Linked DNA regions of Homo sapiens: regions 2, 3, 4, 5, 6 and 7 are each linked to region 1. The links are contacts of gene promoters, found by promoter capture Hi-C in blood cells and fetal thymus (Javierre and others, 2016). All regions are on one chromosome and are shown on one strand. The core of a region is centred on a gene start or on the middle of the fragment in contact, and the rest is flanking DNA. Distances in the headings are between cores, read along the strand shown.

Region 1 (3,236 bases), core at 287-2,786:
AATGGAATAAACTGATTCAAACATTAGAAGGGACATGCTTAAAAAAAAAACCTACCACAATTAAAATTTTGGAACATGATCTTAAATTCCTGTGAAAGGGCATGAAGAGTTTGTGTGTGTGTTTCGTTTTTTGAGACGAAGTCTTGCTCTGTCGCCCAGGCTGGAGTGCAGTGGCACAATTTCTGCTCGCTGCAACCTCTGCCTCCCAGGTTCAAGTGATTCTCCTGCCTCAGCCCCCCGAGTAGCTGGGATTACAGGCACCTGTCACCACGCCCGGCTAATTTTTGTATTTTTAGTGGAGACGGGTTTTCACCATGTTGGCCAGGCTGCTCTCAAAACTCATGACCTCGTGATCCCCCCCACCCCCCGTGCCTCGGCCTCCCAAAGTGCTGGATTTTACAGGCATGAGCCACCTTGCGGTATGTTAATTTGGGGGAAAACAACAGGGACAATTGGGGAAAAATTTTGTTTTGTGAATTACCAATGGAAGAACTAATCACAGGCTAAGCAACATGCTTACGGTTGAATTTGCCAAATTTAAGATGTACATACTATGATGTAGCATGTGTATTTATTTGCACATGCAGTGGGACAATTCCTACAGTTGTCTCACACTGCTGTAGATTATTAGCAACTCCATCCTGCAGTGACATCGCTTTTCTGAATTCTATAGCACTTTTCACCTAATCCTCTGATTAGTCTGTATTTTCCGGTTCAAGTGTATCTTGTTTTTCGTTTGCTCCACTTCCCTTGTCCCTTGCACCCCACTAACAGGAAAATTCCTGGTGGTCAAAATGGCTCTAATTCTTTTTGTATACCCGGGCTTAATTCAATAGGAATTGGGATAACTTTTCAATATTTAAAAAATTTGCACTGTGAAAACGTATATTTTAAACTCTTTCTACAACTTTTCATATTTGAAGAACATATGGCAGGAAGTGGATGCTTTTGATGAAGCCAAAAGAATTTTTTTAACTTCTATTGCTAATTAACAAGGAGGTGGCCGCGGGAGCTCTTTTTTTTTTTTTTTTTTTGAGACGGAGTTTCACTCTTGTTGCCCAGGCTGGAGTGCAGTGGCGCGATCTCAGCTCACCGCAACCTCCGCCTCCCGAGTTCAAGCGATTCTCCTGCCTCAGACTCCCGAGTAGCTGGGATTACAGGCATGCACCACCAGGCCCCGCTAATTTTGTACTTATAGTAGAGACGGGGTTTCTCAGGCTGGTTCGAACTTCCGACCTCATGTGATCCACCCGCCTCCGCCACCCAAAGTGCTGGGATTACAGGCGTGAGCCACCGCGCCCGGGCCAGGCGGGAGCTTTAGGTCTTATTTTATCTTGCTCTGCCCCCGACATCGTGGTGAGAGGGGAACCTTCCTCATATCTGGGCGCTGGCCTCTCCGGGCTTGGGAGAGAGGAACTCAGTGATCATAGAGCTGGCCGAATGCCGGGGTAGAGGGGACCGGAAGTTGTTTTTTTCGCCCCCGCCCAGCGGCCGGATCGCATCTCAGCTGGTTGGCTTTGGTTAGAGCTCCCGTCAGACTTTAGTTCGGCCCTAGGATTTGGTAGCCCCGAAGTGTGGGCTCTCTCCAGTACCAGACTCATTTCAGTACCAGCCTTTGGGAAGTCGTGTGAATACCTCGGTCTCTTAGCCACAGGGATAGAATGGCGGCCTGACGGAGCCGCGGCGCCGGCGAAGTCGCTGAGGCGCGAGCTGGAACCCCCAGACCAGCTCAAACGGGAGCCAAAACTCGAAGCTTGGAAGAATTAGCAGGAAATGGCGGATGAGGCGTTGTTTTTGCTTCTCCATAACGAGATGGTGTCTGGAGTGTACAAGTCCGCGGAGCAGGGGGAGGTGGTGAGTGCTGCCACACAACCTTGAGGTCCTTTTGCGGTGACACACCTTGTTTCCCCTCAGTGCTTTCCTTCAACCCCTGTCCCATCGCCACCCGACGCCTCCCGAGGTGTACACAAAATGGTCCACCTCCAGGTGTCCTAAACCCTAGAACCTGTCAGTTGTCTCCTTTGAACCGTCATCTTTCATCGTTTTCTCTTTCGTATCTTCTTCTATTTGATTCTCTTTTGTCTATTCCCGTACGTTTGTCTTGCACGCCACAGATTTTGGTACTTTTAGTGTTGTCCCTGCCATTATTTACGAGAGGGTTAACTGCAGAGCCTACTTAGTTTTGCTGGCACTTCCAGCACTTGAGCCATGCACTGGACAGACCTGTGCCAACCTGAGAAGCCTGTCCCTCCTTCCTCATTCCTAATGCTCAGTACAACTCCACACAACTTGAGACCTGAAGCCTAATGAAGGTTGAGTTTGCAAAGGAAAGTTTGCAGGCGTTAGGATAATTAGGGAACATAATTTAAATTAATTATTTCAGAAAGTATTTATTTAGTGCCCTTATGTCAGAGCGATTTCTAGGTGCCAGGGATATAGTAGTGAATGAAACAATGGCCCCATCCTTGTAGAGATTTTTTTTTAATCTAATTTAATCCGAAATGTGATAGTATGTAGCGGTTACTTCTAATATGTGGGAGTCCTTATTCAATCATTGTGGGCCTGTCACTGCTGACACTGCTAGATAAATTAAATAAAATAATACTCCTGCCTCACAGTATTTAGGGAATAGTGATTTAATGAATAGTTAACACTGAGTATTGGCTGGTAGAATCATGGAGTTGTAACGGATTTTAGAAATACTCCAAAGTCATGCTCAAGTCAGGAGCCCTTTCTTTAATGCTATTGATAAAAAATGAGTGGAGAGTGGGGATAGGAAATGTATCCTAGGCAAAGATAAAGTGGTAGAGGTATGAAAGAGTGGTGGATTTAAATACACTTAAGCATTTCTTTGGACTAGACTGAATAGAGAGTGAGAAGAATTGAGAGGTGAAGTTAGAAAGCTTTGTGTAATTAAAGAATTCGGATCTTTTCGAGGGAATATTTTTAAGGAAGGGAATGATGTGGACCATTTGCATTTTAGAAAAGTAATCCAGTGTTTGGGCTAGAGAGGGAAGATCCTTGTAGGGGGAAAATCCTTTATTACGGGAGTCACTGCAGGAGGAGATGAAGATCTGGATTAAGACAGGGATAGTGAGAAAAGGAGATAACAGATTTGAAAGTTAGAAAGTGGAATTCTGTAGGCCTTGTTTAAGGATGGGAGTGGGAGTTGAAAATTATCGTCAGGTTTTCAGCTTGAGCAGCTGGGTTGGATGGTGGTACTATTAATCAGAAAA
Region 2 (3,236 bases), core at 502-3,001, 8.5 Mb after region 1:
ACGTTAGTTTACCTCTATCTTACTTTCCTCACCTGTAAAATGGAGATAATACATAATCACCTAATGCAATGCCTAACAATAGTAAATGCTCAATAAATGCCAACTATTATCTCATCCACCCAAATATTCTAGTATCTAGAATATTTAAGGACTGTGAGTTATCTCCCAAAACATTCTCCATAGGCATGAGGGAAATAGCTAATTCTGCATTATAATATATATACAAGGATTTACCTTCCTCTGAAAATAAGGCAGAATTCAATGACAGTAAAAATTTGATAAAAAATAGATCTAGCACTACCTAGTAATTCTGTAAAATCTTACTATGTTTATTTCTGCAGAAATACAAACGATTAGATTTTAATGATCTACAAAATTTCTGCATACAAGTTTACGGCCACGCAAATTTATTTTTCAAAAAGCTCTCTTGTATTGGTACAGTTTTACTGACACGTTATTTTAATATGTAGTATAGTCATCAGAAACACAGTATTAAAACAAATGGAGCTTCCATTTGTTTAAACATATACAACGAATGGCAGGTATGCCCCAAATCTTATTTGAACTTCCCTATATTTAGTTATGCCTGACTTCACCTGATAGGTTATACTAAATTATTTACTGGGAAAAGCAGAACGCAACTCAGTATCTTTTGTGTGTCATTACTAAATTGAAGTCTATCACTTTTTCTTTAAATGCCAAAGGAAGGAATCAAGTACAGCCCAAATCCCTTCTGTAGGTCATATGAATTATAAATTTATTTTCCTATTCATATTTATATCCAACAGAGCATAATTTCAGGAAACAGAATTCCAAGTATGCACATTCTTGATGCCTTATTTCTATTAGCTCCTCAGAATAAATTGCTTGAAAACTTTTAAGACAACTAGTTAACAAGTATAAACCTTTAGTTTGTAGCTAACAGGTATAAACCAAGTTGTCATGAGAAGTTTTCAAGTAAGGCAAAACTAATTTCTAAGACGGAAAAAAACCCAAAACTCAAGAGAAGAATATGTGCCTTTTTACATTTCTCTGCATAAATAGAAGCTATATAAACATGCTCTATTGAAGATAAAATATTATTTTAAAACAATGTGTCAAACAATTAAAATGAGAAAGCTATTAATTCATTTGTTTTGCCATTCTTCAATGCCTTCCAGCAAGCTGAAGGAGAAAATGTTTATCACCAGGCATTTTTCTGCAGGTACCCCCAAAAGACTGGTCCGAAGTAGAGAAGTGGCGCAAAGCAAGCCGCTGTGAAAATACCTAAATTCTCTGAGTGTCAGAAAATGGGAGTTCTCTTAAAAATCAAAACCAGGAGAACTGAACCACGCACAGAAACTCGGAGACCTCATAGGTGGCAACATAGATAAGAAGCTATCAGCTGCTAGATCTTGTTGTGATGGCCTTCTGATGCCCACTAGGAAGGAGACAAGAGCAGGGCCGTAGCAATCCGCCCACCGCTGAAGCTCCTTCTCCTGCACCACAGGAGGAACCGAGTCCTCAAGCTAATGGCAACTTCTCCCCAAAAACTCAAAGGGGAGGGGCTCTTGATGTTCTAGGGACTGGATTAAACTCCTGGAGATCGGTCTCTGAGCTGCACGCACCAGAGGAGAAGGATGTCGTCGGGGCAGTCACGAAGCTTCAAGGAGAAGAGAATAAGTCAGTACCTGTCTGCCTTTCCCGAATACTGGCTGCTGCTGCTGCTGTCGCTGCCGCCGCCGCCGCCATCTTGGCTCCCACGAGCCACTGCCCGGCTGGGGAGCGGAGCGGGGGGATGACGTGGCTGCCCTTACCGCCCCGGAAGCAAAGCCCGGAAGGGCGGGGCCAAAGGGTGTGCCTGAGTTCCGGACCCCACCTCCTCCAGGAAGACCTCCACTCTCGGTAGAACTGGGAGACCCGGTGCAGGTTAATTCAGTGGCCCGTAATGTTAGGCGAATACTAAGAGTTTTTATCCTACCGAATCAAGCCACACTCTCTCAAATGGTAGCAACATTAAATTGAGCTGTTAGGGTAGGAGCGTGTAGTGCTAAGAACCTAATTACTGAACTGTTGGTTTGGTGACTTACAGAGCACTTAAAGGGTGATAATGCTCTAGGAGTATAAGGACCACAGGACTGAAGTAAATGAAGCTCCTGAAACACAGGCAACATTTTAACGTTAGCTCTCGTTTCTCAGTGCAGCAGGAGTCTTCCCTTTGCTCCTTTCTCCAGAGAAACGGAAAGCATTGGAGCATTACTCTGATCTGGCATATTTCTCAGTCGCATCTCTTTAAAAAAAAAGGTGTAGCTTTATGGTGGCGTTCTGCCGGCATGGACACGGGATCCAGGGAGGTACAAAATGAGAAATTAGCATTTCTCCTCTTTCCTTGTAGTAATTGCAAAATCACCTTGCCGTGGGAAGGAAGTCAAGCAGTAGTGGGGTGTGTTGCCTAGGCTGGAGCGCGCAATCAGGGATCACTGCAGCCTCAAATTCTGACGGTCAAACGATCCTCCTGCTTCAGTCTCCCAAGTAGCTAGGGACTACAGGGGCACACCATCAGGCCAGGCTGATGTGCTGGTTTTTGTTGTTGTTTTGTTTTTGAGATAGTATCTCACTGTCTGTCGCTCAGGCTGGAGTGCAGTGGCAGAATCTCGGCTCACTGTAGTCTCGACCTCCCGGACTCAAGCGATCCTCCCAAACTATCCTTCCACCTCAGACTGCCCACTAGTTGGGACTATAGGCAGGGGTCACCACGCCCGGCTAAATTTTTTTTTTTTTTTTTTGTAGAGACGGGGATTCACCATGTTGGCCAGGCTGGTCTTGTGCTGGCGGTTTAATGTACACTTGAAGCCACGTGACCGCAAAATATATGGGATAGATGATTTCTAACTTAATCCATAGATTTTACTGTATGACCAAAATGGATACACAATGACACCTCATTTCCCGAGTTCATTGATGACGCTTCATTATGAAGTTGCACCAAATTCTGAAATGAAATCACTCTGTACCTCAAAAGCTTAACTTTCACAATTATATAAATGAAATGGTTAGCCTAACGATTATATATTGTTTTATAGTGTGAAACACTGGCTTTTTTCATTAATAAAAATTTATTTTTGTGACATTTAAAACAGGTTATCTTATTACATAATCTCTGCCGGGTGCGGTGGCTCACGCCTGTAATCCCAGCACTTTGGGAGGTAGAGGTGGGCAGATCACCTGACGTCAGTAGTTCGAGACCAGCCTGGCCA
Region 3 (3,236 bases), core at 253-2,752, 6.1 Mb before region 1:
GGAGGCTGAGGAGGGTGGATCGCTGGAGCCTGGAAATTAGAGACCAGCCTAGGCAACATGATGAAATCCCATCTCTACCAAAAAATACAAAATTTACCTGGGCATGATGGTATGTGCCTGTTGTCCCAGCTAATCCTGAGGCTGAGATGGAAGGATCCTTTGAGCCTGGGAGGCAGAGACTGTAGTGAGCCAAGATTGTGCTACCACACTCTAGCTTGGGCGACAGAGACCCTGTCTCAAAAAGAAAAAAGAAAAAAGAAAAAAAAATAAATATAATTTCAAACAGCAAAAAAAAGACACTGAATGTTTCCAACACCAGAAGAAGATAAATGTTTGAGATCATGGATATGCTAATTAACCAGATCTGATCACCAAGCATTACATGTATAAAAACATCACCATGTACCCCATGAACATGTACAATAACTATTTGTCAATTAAAAAATTTAAAAGAGGAAATGTTCTTGTACAAAAGCTTTGCAGCATTTTTGATTGCCCTTATTGACCCCCCCCATAGGAAAAGAGCCTGTTGCATGACAAGAGTGATGCCACCTTGAAGTGAAACTACCATGATGACCATGATGACTCCTGCAGCAAGGTCTTTAAGAATGCCTGTAACATGGAAAACGTCTCATAAATAAACAATCCCTGTAGCATAAATAAAGATGCTTATCTAATCTCCCCAGTAGTCACGTTTCACAAGAAAGTCTGAAGCATGACAAGCTACACAAATCTTTACCCTAAAAGCTTGCTTTACAAAGGATATTTTCTGGAGGGCAGGTAGAGGGATCCACCATCTCATGCCCACCCAAGACATTGCTTCTGTTCATAAGTCCTATTAAATGTTTCTTTCTGAAGAACGGGATTTTTCAGCTTGCTTTCTTCAGCATCTCAGCACCTTTGGCAGCAGTCTTGAAGACAGCACCCATTTCCAGTGTGGGACCTTGGTCCCTGGTTGTGGAGGGAGCACAGACCTTATGCTTAGAGAATTGTGTTTGTCTGTTCTAACTTATTTGGCAGTGTATTAGTCTGGATTCTCCAGAGAAACACAACCAACAGGAAAGAGGGAATGAGAGAGAGAGAGAGAGAAAGAGAGAGAGAATAAAAAAAAGAGAAAGAGATTGATTTACTACAAGGAATTGGCTCATTGAAGTATTGAAGGTTGAGAAACCCAAGATCTGCATCAGTAAACTAGTGACCCAGGAGAGTCAATGGTATAGTTCCAGTCCAAGTGTATTAGTCTGTTCTCACAATGCTAATAAAGATATACCCAAAACTGGGTAATTTATAAAGGAAAGGGGTTTAATTGACTCACAGGTCAGCATGGCTGGAGAGGCCTCAGGAAACTTACAATCATGGTGGAATGGGAAGCAAACACATCCTTCTTCACATGGCAGTGGCAAGGAGAAGTGCTGAGCAAAAGTGAGAAGAGCCCTTATAAAACCATTGGCTCTCATGAGAACTCACTATCACAAGAACAAGCATGGGGGTAACCGCCCCCATGATTCAATTACCTCCCATCAGGTCCCTCCCATGACATGTGGGGATTATGAGAATGACAATACAAGATGAGATTTTGATGGGGACACAGCCAAACCATATCACCAAGTACGAAGGCCTGAGAAACAGGAGAACAAATGCTGTAAGTTCAAGTCCAAGAATGAGTCCAAAGGCAGAAGACTAAAGTCCTAGCTCAAACATATTCTGGCCAAAAGAAAGAATTCTTTCTTACTCAGCCTTTTATTTTATTAAGGCCTTCAACAGACTGGATGAGGCTCATCCATGCTGAGAAGAGCAATCTGCTTTACTCAGTCCAATCCAAAAATGAATCTCATCCAAAAACACCCTCACAGACAAACTAAGAAAAAAATGTTTAGCCAAACATCTGGCAATCCATGATGCAGTCAAATCGACACATAAAATTTACCATCAGAGAGTACTACTTGAAAGAATGACAGAAGGCACCTGACTTTGTTTTACATAACTTGAAACCTATTCAGCATGAAAAAAAAACAGCTACACAAAAGACATTCCTCAAAAACATTGTAAGACAAATGGACAACATGCTGCCACCTAGGACAAAGAATTACAATTGAGGCAAATAATAGATGCAGTGAAAGCCTGCAAGGAAAAGCTGGGTAGAGTTTCTCTGGGAAATTATTCAAAAGTGTCTCCATATACTGAGGAATTTAGAAGCTATGCACGTGCCTAGGACAGGATGCATGTTCAAAAACAATCTAAAAAGACCCTAAGCTTTTACTTCTGGCTTATCTTTGGGCTCAGCACAAGCAGGGAGTGAAGGCTTAGGCAGAGTTATAAATGGCCTCGCTAAGTACTGAAAGCATGCTCTAACACACAGCCAATCTTCAAAGGTTGGAAGAGGGTTTTTTGTTGTTGTTGTTGTTGTTGTTGTTTCTTTCTTTTCTTTTATTACTTTATTCTATTCTAGGATAGCTCCTGGTGATCAGGAAAATATCTATCAAAGCACCCCTGAACACAAGCTAAAGGAATAGAGACATCAGAGACCACACAGGACAAAGAATACAGACTTTACAAAGATCATATAGAAAAGTCACTAAACAAGCAAACAACTATATTTCACAGGAAGCAATAACAACAACAACAAATCCTAAGAAGAGAGAAGAATCTGATGTCCAGAGTTAGCATATTTTAATATTCAAATGTCCAGTCTCCAGCAAAAACATTATGAAGCATGCAAAGAAACTAGAAAGTATGGTTTATTTACAGAAGAAATTAATATAAGCTCTCCCTAAAGAAGCACAAACACTGAACATATTAGACAAAAATTTAAAATCAACTGTCTTAAATATGCTCAGAGAGGTAAAGGAAACCACAAAGAGTTAAAGGAAACCAGAAGAATGATGTGTTAACAATAGAAAATATCAACAAAGATAGAAATTATGAAAAGAAACCAAGTAGAAACTGTGAAGCTGAAAAATACAATAACTGAAATGAAAATTTACTAGAGGGTTGCAATAGCAGATTTGAGCAGGCAGAATAAAGAATGAGTGAACTTACAACTGTTGACTACAATCAAAATTATCCAGACTGAGGAGTATAAAGAAAAAAGAAAGACCAGGCGCGGTGGCTCACACGTGTAATCTCAGCATTGTGGGAGGCTGAGACAGTAGAATCACTTGAGCCCAGGAGTTCAAGACCAGCTGGGGCAACATAGTAAGACTCTGTCTTTACAAAAATTAAAAAAAAAAAAGTTA
Region 4 (3,236 bases), core at 204-2,703, 6.1 Mb before region 1:
CAGAAACAGAATCGGAATTTTCAAGACTGGGTGAAACTTTATATTGTAATCTTAACATATACATATCCAATTTGTGGCAGCACCAGAATTTCAGATCTCTAGGTTTCTAAGTCCAATACTTTTGTCTAGAGCTGGCGGGTTGTGTTCAGAGAAGGTTTTAAAAAATTCTTCCTCACCGTAATGTTGGTATAGAGAATGGGGTAAAGGTATGAGAAGATAATACAGCCAAAAATATAAAAATATATGTAACTGTCATATATTGCAAAAGTACTATACTGGTCTGATCATTACTAAATCTAAGTGTCTTTATTTCAAGAATTTTAAAAGCTGTTTTTTTCTTAGTGACTAATACAATTCAACTTCTTCTTTCTTTAAAAAATAAAACCTTAGCCTCAGTCCAAGGAGTTCCTCTAGAATCATCAAATAATGATATTTTCCTCCCGGTCAAACAAAAGATTCAGTGCCAGCAGGAAAAGAAAGCACCACTGCACAATTTAACTTACGGTAAACTATTTTTGGTTTGTTTTCAGTTTGTTACTTAAGTATATTGTTAAATGTTCTAGGTAATTACTTTCCTTGTGTGGGCATTAAACTTTAGCTGTGGACAAAAGCTTGAATCGTAAAAGAGACACTCAGAGAAAGACTGGGCAGGAGGGTGGAACGTTCCTAACCTAAATTTATCTCTTTTAATTTCCTGTGATCCTTCTATAATTGTTTTGTTTTGTTTTGTTTTGTATTTTTTGCAGAACTTCCAACTCTGAACCAAGAACAGGAAAATTTTTTGGCTGTAGAAGCCCGAAACAAGACATTAACTAGAGCTCAGTTGGCTAAACAAATTTTTCACTCAAAGGAGAGTATAGTTGCAACCACTAAATCCAAAAAGGACACGTTTGTTTTAGAAAGCGTTGATTCTGCTGATGAACAATTTCAAAATACTAATGCTGAGACTCTCAGTACTAATTGTATTCCTATTAAAAATGGCAGCCTGTTAATGGTTTCTGATAGTGAGAGGACAACAGAAGGGACTTCGCAACAGAAAGTTAAGGAAGGAAATGGAAAAACAGTGCCTGGAGAGACAGGTCTTCCAGGTTCCATGAAAGATACATGTAAAATTGTACTTGCAACACCAAGACTTCATATAACAATACCTCGGAGGTCAAAAAGAAATATTTCAAAGCTTTCTCCTCCAAGAATATTTCAAACTGTTACAAATGGACTTAAAAAAAATCAGGTGGGAAAACTTTTAAGACAGATATTTATTTCTATTTTTACCCCGTTCTTCAAGAGCTTGAGCTTTTAATGTTCTCTCATTATTTTTTTTCTAGCTAGGATTTGAACCTGTATGCTTCATTATTAACAGTGTCTTCATTATCATGTTTTATTATTTACTGCAGTGACAGTGTGACATAGTGAAAAGAACAGTGAGTTGAATGTAAGAAGACCCACATGTTAAGTCTTATTTTGCTCTATTACTAGTTGTGTAGTCTTCAATAATTTACTTGTTCCTTTTGGTGATGAACATTGAATTCATTCCTACTCTTTTTTTTCTGATACTTACAGTACTATTAAAATAGTTAGATTAATTAAGATAGAAAGGAACTGTAGCATCTGAAGATTTGAGAATTTTTCCCAAATTAAATACAGAGTAATCAATGAAAGACTTTAGAGCATTAAACTGTTACATTAGGACAAATTCTCTGAAGGAAGTGGAATGGAAATACAAGCTTAAGGAGGAAGATGCAGTGTAAAATTTCCAATTGTTAGAGGTTTGCCCATTAATTAATTAATTATTTTTGAGCTGGAGTCTTCCTCTGTCACCCAGGCTGGAGCACAATGGCGTGGTCTTGGCTCACTGCAACCTCCACTTCCTGGGTTCAAGCGATTCTCCTACTTCACCCTCCTGAGTAGCTGGGATTACAGGCGCCTGCCACCATGCCCAGCTAATTTTTGTGTTTTTAGTAGAGACGGGGTTTTACCGTGCTGGCCAAGCTGGTCTCTGACTCCTGACCTCAAGTGATCCTCCCGCCTCGGCCTCCCAAAGTGCCGGGATTAGAGGCGTGAGCCACTGCATCCAGCCATTAATTCTTAAATGTATGATGGTGGTTATCAAGTTGAGATCATGTATAAATTCCATCTAAATTTTAATTAATAATTAATTTTTTAAATGAGGCCTTACTCTGTTGCCCAGGCCAGCCTTTTGGGCTCAAGCAATCCTCCCACTTAAGCCTCCCTTGTAGCCATCTAAATTTTAAAGAGTGACATACCAGTTATGGTTTTATATCTCAATATATTCGCTAGAAATCCCATTATTGGAAAATATTTAAACTTTATTTATTTATCTATCTATTTATTTATTTATTTTGGAGACAGAGTCTCACTCTGTCACCCAGGCTGGAGTGCAGTGGCACAATCTCAGCTCATTGCAACCTCCGCCTTCCAGGTTCATGCAAATCTCCTGCCTCAGCCTCCTGAGTGGCTGGGACTACAGGCACATGCTGCCATGCCCGGCTAAATTTTTTTTTTTTTGGATTATTCTCATTAACATATAAACATGTTGAAACATGGCCTGCATTTTTTAAAAACATGCAAACAAAGGCCCATCTTTCCTTTATCCCCTGTCCAACTCCAGCTGCTACACTACTTTTTGTTTCCCTTATATAGCAAGACATTTGAAAGAGGTCTGTGTATTCATGGTTGGAGTTGAGAAGAATATTCTGTGCTGGAAACATATTGGAGAGCTATCAGCATAGAGATGGAATTTAAAACTATGACACTGGAAATACAGCCTAGAGAGTGCGTGTAGGTAGGGAGAAAATTGAGGGGGCAATTGAAAGGGCAATGTCCTTACCACCTAAAGTAAAAGGAAATGATTACAGGTGTGAGCCACCACGCCTGGCCCCAAAATGTCTTTCTAAAGAAGTGTTACGCTTTATATTTTGTATTCCAGGATCGTTCCTGATTTTCTGCTACATTGCTGCCCATCCCTTCTCAGTCCTCTTTGCTATTTCCTCTTTCTTTCCCCAGAATCAGTCCTAAAAATGTTGGAATTACTGCAGATCAGCCCTAGAAATTGTTTTTCTACCTACACGCACTCTCTAGGCTGTATTTCCAGTGTCATAGTTTTAAATTCCATCTCTATGCTGATAGCTCTCCAATATGTTTCCAGCACAGAAAATTCTTCTCAACTCCACACTCATGTGCAGTTGTCTATATGACTTTTCTATTGATATCAGATA
Region 5 (3,236 bases), core at 505-3,004, 6.0 Mb before region 1:
GGCAGCAGCTCACGCCTAAGGGTGTAATCCCAGGGCTGTGGGAGGCCAAGTTGGGAAGACTGCTTGAAGCCAGGAATTTGAAACCACCCTGGGCAACATAGTGAGACCCCATATCTACAAAAAAAATGACAATTGCTGGCGAAGTGGCAAGCACCTGCTGAAGTATCACTTGAACACAGGAGTTCTAGGCTGCAGTGAGTGAACTACAGTTGCGACTGTATTCCAGCCTGGGTGACAGGGCAAGACCCTGTCTCCAAAAAAAAAAGAAAGAAAGAAAAAGAAAAGAAAAAAAGAAAGCTTTGAGGGCTTGGTTTTGGGGGGGGCGGGGAACAGCCTGGGGCAAGAATCATATCTTGGTATTCCCAATACCTGGCGCAGTGCCCAATACGGCACACCATAATCACTGGCGGCCTATACGTATTCAAAATCTAGAATACATTTGTGACCATTTTATAAAATTAAGCTTATTGCTTTTAATAGTTCATTCATGAAAGAAATACATGAGTAACTCCCACATGCCAGGTATTGAGTTAATGACAGAGAAACGACCAAAATCGGCATAATCCCTACATTCATGTAGCTGATATTTTACTGGCGCTGAAAGACCAAAATAATCAATACGCAAAAGAATGACCAATTATCACAAATGTTAAGAAGAAAATAACAAAATAAGGAACACTGACAAGATAGCTTAGTTAGAATAGACCTTTCTGAAGGGATGACTTTTTTTTTTTTTTTTTTTTTTTTTTGAGACAGAGTCTTGCTCTGTCGCCCAGGCTGGAATGCAGTGGCGCGATCTCGGCTCACTGCAAGCTCCGCCTCCCAGGTTCACGCCATTCTTGCGCCTCAGCCTCCCGAGTAGCTGGGACTACAGGTGCCCACCACCATGCCCGGCTAATTTTTTGTATTTTTTTTAGTAGAGACGGGGTTTCACCATGTTGGCCAGGATGGTTTCGATATCCTGACTTCGTGATCCACCCGCCTCGGCCTCCCAAAGGGGGATGACATTTTTAAGCTGACTGAAAAACATGAATGTTTAAACGAGGTCAGGGAGAAAACCAGAGATAGGATAGAATTTCTAAGCTCATCAAAAAAAAGGATAGAAGAAAAAAGTCTTGCAGCTTGCAAGAGTTAAAAGCTATCATTGGAAGCATGGAGCAAGATGGAAATACAGATAATCGCCCACACAGAACATCAAATTTGACAACTATCTACACAAAAAAAGCACCTTCATAAGAACCAAAAATCAAGTGAGCAATCACAGTACCTGGTATTCACTTCATATTGCTAAAAGAGGCACTTTGAGGTAGGAAACACAATCCTTTTTTTTTTTTTTTTTTTCAGACGGAGTCTCACTCTGTCACCCAGGCTGGAGTGCCATGCCATGATCTCGGCTCACTGCAAGCTCTGCCTCCCGGGTTCACGCCATTCTCCTGCCTCAGCCTCCCGAGTAGCTGGGACTACAGGTGCCCACCACCACGCCCGGCTAATATTTTGTATTTTTTTTTTCTTTTTTTTTTTTTGAGACGGAGTCTCGCTCTGTGGCCCAGGCTGGAGTGCAGTGGCGGGATCTCGGCTCACTGCAAGCTCCGCCTCCCGGGTTCACGCCATTCTCCTGCCTCAGCCTCCCAAGTAGCTGGGACTACAGGCGCCCGCCACTACGCCCGGCTAATTTTTTGTATTTTTAGTAGAGACGGGGTTTCACCGTTTTAGCCGGGATGGTCTCGATCTCCTGACCTCGTGATCCGCCCGCCTCGGCCTCCCAAAGTGCTGGGATTACAGGCGTGAGCCACCGCGCCCGGCCATTTTTTTGTATTTTTTAGTAGAGACGGGGTTTCACTGTGTTAGCCAGTGTGGTCTCGATCTCCTGACCTCCTGATCCGCCTGCCTTGGCCTCCCAAAGTGCTGGGATTACAGGTGTGAGCCACCACGCTCAGCCAGGAAACACAATCTTGAATCATGGACACCACCCCTCCCTCATCCCCCAGAGGCCCTGTGGTGTGGAGAAAGAATCTAAGAACCTGGGGGAAGGAGAGTGCAGTTTCTGGGAGACTGTGCATTGAACTAAGTGTTGCTCTGTCACAGTGAAAAGCAAAACCAGGTGGAACTCAGTCAATGCCACCACAGAAGGAGAATTTAGACCAGCCCTAGCTAGAAGGGAATTCCCCATCCTAGTGGTTGGAACTTAAGTTCCTGCAAATGCTCTGGAGACGATGAACATGGGGGGCACGTGACCTAGTGAGACACCAGGTGGGACAGTTAAAGGAGTGATTGCACCACCCTTCATTCAACCCCAGTCTGGGCAGCTCACATAAACGAAAGTGACTCCTTCCTTCTGCTTGAGGAAAAAAGAGGGAAGAGTAAAGAGGACTTTGTCTTGCATCCTGGATATCAGCTCAGCCACAACAGGACAGGGCAGAGTCATGAGGTCTCCGTTCCTGACCCTAGCTCCCTGACAACTTTTCTAGACGTACCCTGGGCCAGAAGGAAACCCGCTACCTTGAAGGGAAGAACACAGTCCTGGCAAGATTCATTACCTGCTGACTAAAGAGCCCTTGGGCCCTAAATAACCATCAGCAATACCCAGGTAATATGTCATGGGCCTTGGGTGAGACTCTTAGACATGCTGGCTTCCAGTGAAACCCAGCACATCTCTAGCAATGATGGCTATGATGAGAAACTTCTGCTTGAGAAAAGCAGAAGTAAAGGAGACTTTGTCTTACACCTCAGGTACCAGCTCAGCCACAGTGGGGAAGGGCAACAAATGGGCTCTTGGGGACCTGATTCCAGGCCTTGACTCTTGAACAGCATTTCTGAAACTGTCCCAGGCCAGAGGGGAACCCACTTCTCTGAAGGGTGAGTCCCAGGCCTGGCAGCATTCAGCACAAGCTGACTGAAGAGTCCTTGGGCCTTAAATGAAAATCAGCAGTAGACTGGCAGTACACCTCATGGGCCTATGGTAGTGGTGACCATGGGGAGAGGCTCCTCTGCCTGTGGAAAGAAAGAGTGAGAAGGACTTCATCTTGTGCTTTGAGTGCAAGCTTAGCTGCAGTAGTATAGAGCACAAGGTAGATTTCTAAGGTTTCTGACTCTAGTTTCTGGCTCCTAGATGGCATCTCTGGACTTGCCCGGGGCCTGGAGGAACTTGCTGACAAACTTCACACGTTCTAACTTTTTAGTGGGAGCTAAAAATTAAAGTAATTGAACTCATAGAGATAGAGAGTAGAAGGATGATT
Region 6 (3,236 bases), core at 258-2,757, 6.0 Mb before region 1:
TTGCAGAACATAAATTATTAGGAAACATTAAAAATGTGGCCAAGACAGCTAACAAGGACCACTTGGTTACAGCCTATAACCATCTTTTTGAAACTAAGGTGAGTATTGTTAGATTCTGTTAGCAGAACATCACTTTTGAAATTTTATTTCCAAAAAAGATGTTTAAAATGCATTGATTTGTTGAATGTGTTGGAGCTTTTCCACCTGTAATTTTTCTGAACTGTTATCATAAGTGGACTAGCTGTCAAATCTAGCAAGGCTAATCTGCAGTATGGCAGAATGTTTCAGTATTTTCAAAGGGTCTGGATTTTGTAGCTTAAATTGAGACAACAAATTCTTAAGTCCACTGAAGTTATAAATTCATTAGGTCAGTGGTATTACCGTATTACTTTAGCATATGGTGTATATTAAATGTATTTTGTTGTTGTTTTATTATATATGTTAAATGTTATATTGAAAATAAGTTTCCATTTCACTAATGAATTTAAAGTCTGGTTTAGATTTAGGCTGAGCTTTACAAAAATACATTTTAAGACATTCTCCCACATTTGTTTACTATGAAATGAATATCTTCCACAGGAAAGAAATCTTTATTTAGGAGTTATTTGAATAGTGCTTATATCTCTGGGTATGAGTTGGCCTTTCTAAGGTCATGGTTCTCATTTCAGAATTTATATTGTAAGCTGGTTTGAGGGTAATCATTTATTGTTTAAAAATAAATTATGAGCAAAATTCTTTCTTTGCTCTTCGTTTCCTTAGACCATTTATTCACAATTGTGTTATACAACCTATATTTATTATGCAGATGTTCATTTAATTGAGAGGCTGAAAATCTTGATGTTGCTTCTTGGTTTTAGCCTGTCCTGGGTATGATGTTACAACATTTTCCTTACAGCGTTTTAAGGGTACTGAAAGTATAAGTAAAGTGTCTGAGCAAGTAAAAAATGTGAAGCTTAATGAAGATAAACCCAAAGAAACCAAGTCTGAAGAGACCCTGGATGAGGTCTGTATATAATTATTTTTTTATTTTATCATGTGGAGTCTAGAAATTGTATTTATTTCTTTATTATTTGCACTAACTTCTCATAGTGAAGGGTGGTTGAATACGACCACTTTCAATGAGCCAAACACTTAATGTAGTGGGCCATTTCCCTTAGGTGTACTGGGACAGAAATAATCCTAAGAACTAGTGCTTTACAGTTATTAGCCTATTCTGTGAAACACTTCTGATATTGTATTTAATATCGCCTCCACATCTGTCCAGACCTTCTGAGCTTTCAAAGCTATTTTAAGGCCTTGATTCTATAGCCAAGTTGGACTAAGTGAAATACATTTTCTTTTGATTATTTTTAGCTTTTTCTAATGTACATGGTGTCCCTGGCAATAGAAATAATCCAGGCTTGGCTGCAGGATGTGGGTTCATCTGTCTCAGTTTTCCCAACTCAGGTTTTATACTTTGGTACAAAGGTTTGAAGAACCAGATTAATTCATTCCTGCAAATTGACAGCCTTAGTAGAGCTAAGATCAGCTACTAAGAACTGACTTAGCAGAGCTGAATTGATTATAATCTTGTCATTTCTGATAATACCTTACTATCTAAGCTCACTCATTGCCAGCAGTCTTAGTATCAGTGATAATAATCTATTTTTAGTTCTTGTAAAGAGGTGAGGCTATTGATGACAGTGTAGCTTTTGGGTATTTGTGGAAAGTGTAAGTTCAGTTATACAATTATAGATGTTTATTTGATTAAAGCTAGTTAATTTTGCATGATCTTTTCCTATTGGCTAAAAAGCACAAATTAATGTTTATAGGTATATGTGCACACAAAGCAGTTTTAAAGTTTATCACAATTAATATTTAATAAATGTTATATCTATTGAGTAGCTACTAAGGTAAATGGAGCAATTATTATTGAAGGGTTTCAGAAGCAACTGGCAACATAGTTCACCCTCCAGGAAATTAGAATGAGGATGGTTTTAGGAGACAGATAATATTTCATTAAGGAGTTAAGAAAATAAAAGGTAAATTCATAAGAGCTAGAGACAATCTAGAGCAAGCTTATGAGGGTCCTAAACTCTATCATTTTATTTAAAACCTCTTCGTTTAACTGGCCAGCTTGAGCCCATTTATGTACTGTGACTGTTTTCCTAGCGTCCTACATTCAAAAGCCTCTTGTCCATTTCCTTGCTAACCCTCGTTGTCTACTCTCTGTCTTCATGCTTTGGGACTGGAGAGCAGGCATTATAAACATATAATCATAAAACCTTTTATTGAGCCTGGTATAAATTCATGCTTAATATTAGCCAAGCATGTTTTCTAGTTTCATTGCTACTCAACAACATTTATACTATCCTTTGCCCAGTTCTCCATCACATTGCTCATTGCTCACATAAAGTATTTGACATTTTCTCACAAATTCTCAGTCCCTTCTTACTCCTTTCTCTTTTTTTGTTTTTGTTTTTGTCTTTGAGACAAAGTCTCACCCAGGCTGGAGTGCAGTGGTGCCATCTTGGTTCACAGCAACCTCCCCCTCCTGGGTTCAAGTGATTCTCCTGCCTCAGCCTCCCCAGTAGCTGGGACTCCAGGCAGGCGCCACCATGCCCAGCTGATTTTTGTATTTTTAATAGAGACGCAGTTTCTCCATGTTGGCTGGGCTGGTCTTGAACTCCTGACCTCAAGTTATCCGCCCACCTAGGCCTTCCAAAGTGTTGGGATTACAGGCGTGAGCCACTGCCCCTGGACTCCCTTCTCATTATATGCTCCTGTGTTCTGTAGTGCCAAAATGTGAATGTCTAGCCATTGCCATTCCCTTCTTCTGAGCTTAAAATTTCTCTGAATCTTTGCGTCCCTTTTTCTTTCTCATGTCTCCTTCAGGACTAATGCTCTCAAACATCTTCCTTTTATTTTAAACGTTCATTCCTTTTCCATTTTCAAGCATTCGAAGCAAGGCCTCATACCCAGAATGTTAAAAACGTTGTTCATTTCTTGCCTCCCTTCTCTTTCTTTATCCAGTCAGCAACAAAATGGGTATTCTAATAAGATTTCTAAAACAATACTTTGCAAACCACACCCTGCTGAAAAATCTTCAGTAATTGAGTGTTGTCTAGAATTGCCCCGTTCAGTATGGTAGTTACTAACAATATGTGGCTACAGAGTGCTTTAGCTACTTTGAACTGAAATGTGCTTTAAGAATAAAATATATACTCAGTTTCAAAGGTGTAATTTAGACGTTTCTT
Region 7 (3,236 bases), core at 418-2,917, 5.9 Mb before region 1:
ATTCTTACTTGTGTTAACATCTTTCAGCAAGTGTCTTCCTAGGTCGTTATACCTTAGAAACCTGCCTGCTTCCTCTATTTCATCAAGAGCAGAGAGAATATTCCTATCTATATGCTTCCTATTTCTAACCTGAGTCTGTATAACTTCTACCTTTAGCACATTGATCCTTAGTACTTTACAAATGCTTCATAAAAGTCTTCTACTTTTGGTACTAAAAAAAAAATTTAGAAAATCACTCACTTAAAAAGTACCTAAGTTTATACAATACTACTCATAAAAATTATAACAAAAAATAGAAAATACTAAGTTTATACAATACTACTCATAAAAATTATAACAAAAAATAGAAAACATGCCAATTTAAAAGCAAAGACACAGTCCTCATACTCGTTCAGAAAGACTTTCTGGATCCTTATTTATGGGATACTCTGAATAAAGCAGAAAACAGAACACAAAAATAATGACACAGAATTAGTTGTTTTAACAGTAATCATTAAAATAAAAGGATACCAATTGTAACAGAAAAATCATTTTAGAAAATTAAAATGGAATGATACCTGAGTGTTTGAAAATAGATACTACTTACTATATAAAATGCATCCTTCACTGTTTTGGATATAAGGTGTTATAGCAATCACAATAATGTATATTTAGCAAATCATTAAGTTTCAAAAAAAATAAGCATCTATCATGTGCCAGGCACTGTGTCAATTTAATGCCATAAATAAATAACTCAACTTAGGTACTATTTTCTCATTCCTTCATTACTCTGAACTACCTTAGACAAGACAGAATTCCTGTTTCTCTTTATCCATTAAAATGAATAAGGAGAAACTTCTATCTAAAAACAGTAAAATTTCTAAACATTTCATAAGGCATATGAAAAAATGTCAAAAGCAAGCATGTAGGTTGTGATTAGCAACAAAATTTATTCCTCTTTCCACATAATAAAAGCTTACATAACATTCCAAGATAATTATAATACTTAATATTACCAACTATCTGAGTAATCAAAGATGTTTCAATGATCAGAATTTCCCACCTACCTCTGAAAATGATGACTATACAGCTGTGTTGGAATACCAAGAATACGATCATATATAGCTGTAACTTCTCTCAGGTTTCCCTGCTCATTTTCCCAGTTTATATACATTTCCCACAGTCTGTCAGAACGGAAATCTGTTCCTGCAGCTAGAACAGCATGCTCAAAAGTTCTGAAAAATTAAATTACTCTTAAGTTATCTTTCCAAGATAAAATCACTTTTAAAATATTATTTCTAAATTTAGAAGATAATGCTAACTTCAAAAATTATATTCAACTGCTTCCTATGCAAGTAGGGATTAAAGGGTAGACAGAATAACAGAAAGCATACAACAGCTGCTTAAAAAGAGTGAGAAAACAAAGAGAATAGATAAATGTACTTTTTATGTAACTTTATCAAATAGAAAATTAAATACAAAATGTACACATTGCAAATAGGTAAGAGTAGACATGTAAGTATTTGTTAAATCTGAAATGTCTATTGTATAGATTGATTTATGACAGAAGACAAAATTAAAACAAGTAGGAAGTTAAAGAGAGGCAAATTTTATCTCAATTTAAGAATATTTTCATGAGGCATGGTGAAATGGTTACAGGCGTGATTACAGGCTCATGCCTGTAATCGCAGCACTTAGGGAGGCTGAGGCGGGAGGATCACCTTAGGTCAGGAGTTCAAGATCAACATGGCCAACATGGTGAAACCCCATCTCTACAAAAATACAAAAAATTAGCCAGGCATGGTGGCACATGCCTGTAGTCCCAGCTACTTGGGAGGCTGAGGCAGGAGAATTGCTTGAACCCGGCAGGCGGAGGTTGCAATGAGCCAAGATTGCACCACTGCACTCCAGACTGGGCGACAGAGCGCGACTCTGTCTCAAAAAAAAAAAAAAAGTATACATATACTTTAAACCTCTCAAAAGCCCCTCTCAATTCTAAAATTCTATCATTAAAGTTTTATCACAGGCTGGGCACGATGGCTCACACCTGTAATTCCAGCACATGAGGCCAGGAGTTTGAGACCAGCCTTGCCAACACGGCGAAACCCCATCTCTACTAAAAATACAAAAATTAGCCAGGCGTTGTGGTGCACATCTGTAATCCGAGCTACTCGGGAGTCTGAGGCATGAGAATCACTTGAACCTGGGAGGCGAAAGTGGCAGTGAGCTGAAATTGCACCACTCAACACTGCACTCCAGCCTGGATGACAGAGCAAGACTCTGTCTCCAAAGAAAAAAAAAAAGTTTGTTACAAAGTATTTTAAAATACCTAGTCATGTCAAGAGATTTCTGTAAGCAATTTTAATCACTGGATTTAATACTCCAATGGGATAAAGCTTTTAGATACATACTTTCAAGATAAGTATCTTAGAATCAAGAGAGATTTTTAAAAAGTATAAAACTACACTCCCCTAAGTTAAACCACAATTTTAACACAATTTCAATAAAGCGCTAAAAAATGTTTAGTGGAACAAGAAAAAATCAAATTCTACTATTCATCTAGAATACAAAAATGCAAAATGACTTTGTAAAAGGATAATGCAGCAGGCATTTTCCTGAAAGATAATATAAGAAACTAGGAAGCTATAGTAATTACACGTTTGGCACTGGCCAGGTAACAGAAAAATGGATGAACAGTACAGAGCCAAGAAAACAAAAAAGAGATCAATGTGTGTGAGTATTTGGTGTATGATATAGGAGATACTTTAATTCAACAGTGGGAGTATATAAAAGGCTAATGTCTATCTCACGACAGATAGAAATTAAATTCAGATAAATGAATAAGCAAAAAACTATAGAAAAGTTAGAACAAAATACAGGATTTATATATTTTTGGTAAAATAGGCACAAAACTCAGGAACCAGTAAGAATTAAAACAGAAGCACATTAAGGAAAAATAAAACTCCATATGATAAAAGACACCATAAACAAAGTTAAAAACATACCAACATTGGAGGAAATATGTTTAATATAGAAATAAAAGATTGAAGAGCATGTGTGTCTGTGCATGCATGCATGTGCATATTTGGTGTAAGGTTTTCAAAAGAATAAAATAGATGTTACTGTCCCTACAGAACCCCAAATGATTCAGAAAATTAACCAGACACTGAAAAAAGTATGGAGAAAAGGGGAAGAAGACAAGAAGGTAATGAAATGAAGACAGAACGTTTAGAAGAAGGTATACTTAATGAATCGTG

The links. The method cuts DNA at HindIII sites, captures the fragments that hold promoters and counts their contacts. A CHiCAGO score of 5 or more calls a contact.
Region 2: a contact is called between the fragment with the promoter of SCFD1 here and the fragment with the promoter of TRAPPC6B in region 1, in 4 of 17 cell types (total B cells, total CD8 T cells, M0 macrophages and 1 more). The highest score is 9.6, in total B cells.
Region 3: a fragment that was not itself captured here is called in contact with the fragment with the promoter of TRAPPC6B in region 1 in 2 of 17 cell types (naive CD8 T cells and naive B cells); the score reaches 7.4 in naive CD8 T cells.
Region 4: a contact is called between a fragment that was not itself captured here and the fragment with the promoter of TRAPPC6B in region 1, in 5 of 17 cell types (M0 macrophages, total B cells, non-activated CD4 T cells and 2 more). The highest score is 12.8, in M0 macrophages.
Region 5: a contact is called between a fragment that was not itself captured here and the fragment with the promoter of TRAPPC6B in region 1, in 2 of 17 cell types (non-activated CD4 T cells and total B cells). The highest score is 8.2, in non-activated CD4 T cells.
Region 6: a contact is called between a fragment that was not itself captured here and the fragment with the promoter of TRAPPC6B in region 1, in 8 of 17 cell types (naive B cells, monocytes, erythroblasts and 5 more). The highest score is 9.9, in naive B cells.
Region 7: a fragment that was not itself captured here is called in contact with the fragment with the promoter of TRAPPC6B in region 1 in 5 of 17 cell types (naive CD4 T cells, non-activated CD4 T cells, naive CD8 T cells and 2 more); the score reaches 8.5 in naive CD4 T cells.

The regions. Positions count from the first base shown.
Region 1 is chr14:39,168,633-39,171,868 of GRCh38, reverse strand. TRAPPC6B (trafficking protein particle complex subunit 6B) reads left to right here and starts at 1,536. Exons shown (of 6, transcript NM_001079537.2): 1 at 1,536-1,854. The coding sequence starts at 1,774. RefSeq lists enhancers at 309-898, 1,680-1,729, 1,489-2,078. The HindIII fragment of the contact is 6,900 bases long and covers 1-1,755 here.
Region 2 is chr14:30,620,834-30,624,069 of GRCh38, reverse strand. SCFD1 (sec1 family domain containing 1) reads right to left here and starts at 1,751. Exons shown (of 25, transcript NM_016106.4): 1 at 1,671-1,751. The coding sequence starts at 1,731. RefSeq lists enhancers at 1,469-2,148, 1,218-2,417. The HindIII fragment of the contact is 1,359 bases long and covers 1,645-3,003 here.
Region 3 is chr14:45,258,806-45,262,041 of GRCh38, reverse strand. LOC107984674 (a long non-coding RNA gene) reads right to left here. Exons shown (of 4, transcript XR_001750746.2): 2 at 98-231. Among named protein-coding and RNA genes, the nearest start is that of MIS18BP1, 7.2 kb to the right of the region's middle. The HindIII fragment of the contact is 1,506 bases long and covers 750-2,255 here.
Region 4 is chr14:45,240,029-45,243,264 of GRCh38, reverse strand. It overlaps MIS18BP1 (MIS18 binding protein 1), which reads left to right. Exons shown (of 17, transcript NM_018353.5): 3 at 391-504; 4 at 747-1,231. Among named protein-coding and RNA genes, the nearest start is that of MIS18BP1, 12 kb to the left of the region's middle. The HindIII fragment of the contact is 547 bases long and covers 1,180-1,726 here.
Region 5 is chr14:45,144,346-45,147,581 of GRCh38, reverse strand. All of the region lies in intron 3 of FANCM (FA complementation group M), which reads right to left. Among named protein-coding and RNA genes, the nearest start is that of FANCM, 10 kb to the right of the region's middle. RefSeq lists enhancers at 2,469-2,578, 2,669-2,728. The HindIII fragment of the contact is 2,578 bases long and covers 466-3,043 here.
Region 6 is chr14:45,127,561-45,130,796 of GRCh38, reverse strand. It overlaps FKBP3 (FKBP prolyl isomerase 3), which reads left to right. Exons shown (of 7, transcript NM_002013.4): 2 at 1-98; 3 at 896-1,003. Among named protein-coding and RNA genes, the nearest start is that of FKBP3, 5.3 kb to the left of the region's middle. The HindIII fragment of the contact is 1,105 bases long and covers 955-2,059 here.
Region 7 is chr14:45,100,507-45,103,742 of GRCh38, reverse strand. PRPF39 (pre-mRNA processing factor 39) reads right to left here. Exons shown (of 14, transcript NM_017922.4): 5 at 1,047-1,214. Among named protein-coding and RNA genes, the nearest start is that of SNORD127, 8.8 kb to the left of the region's middle. The HindIII fragment of the contact is 1,421 bases long and covers 957-2,377 here.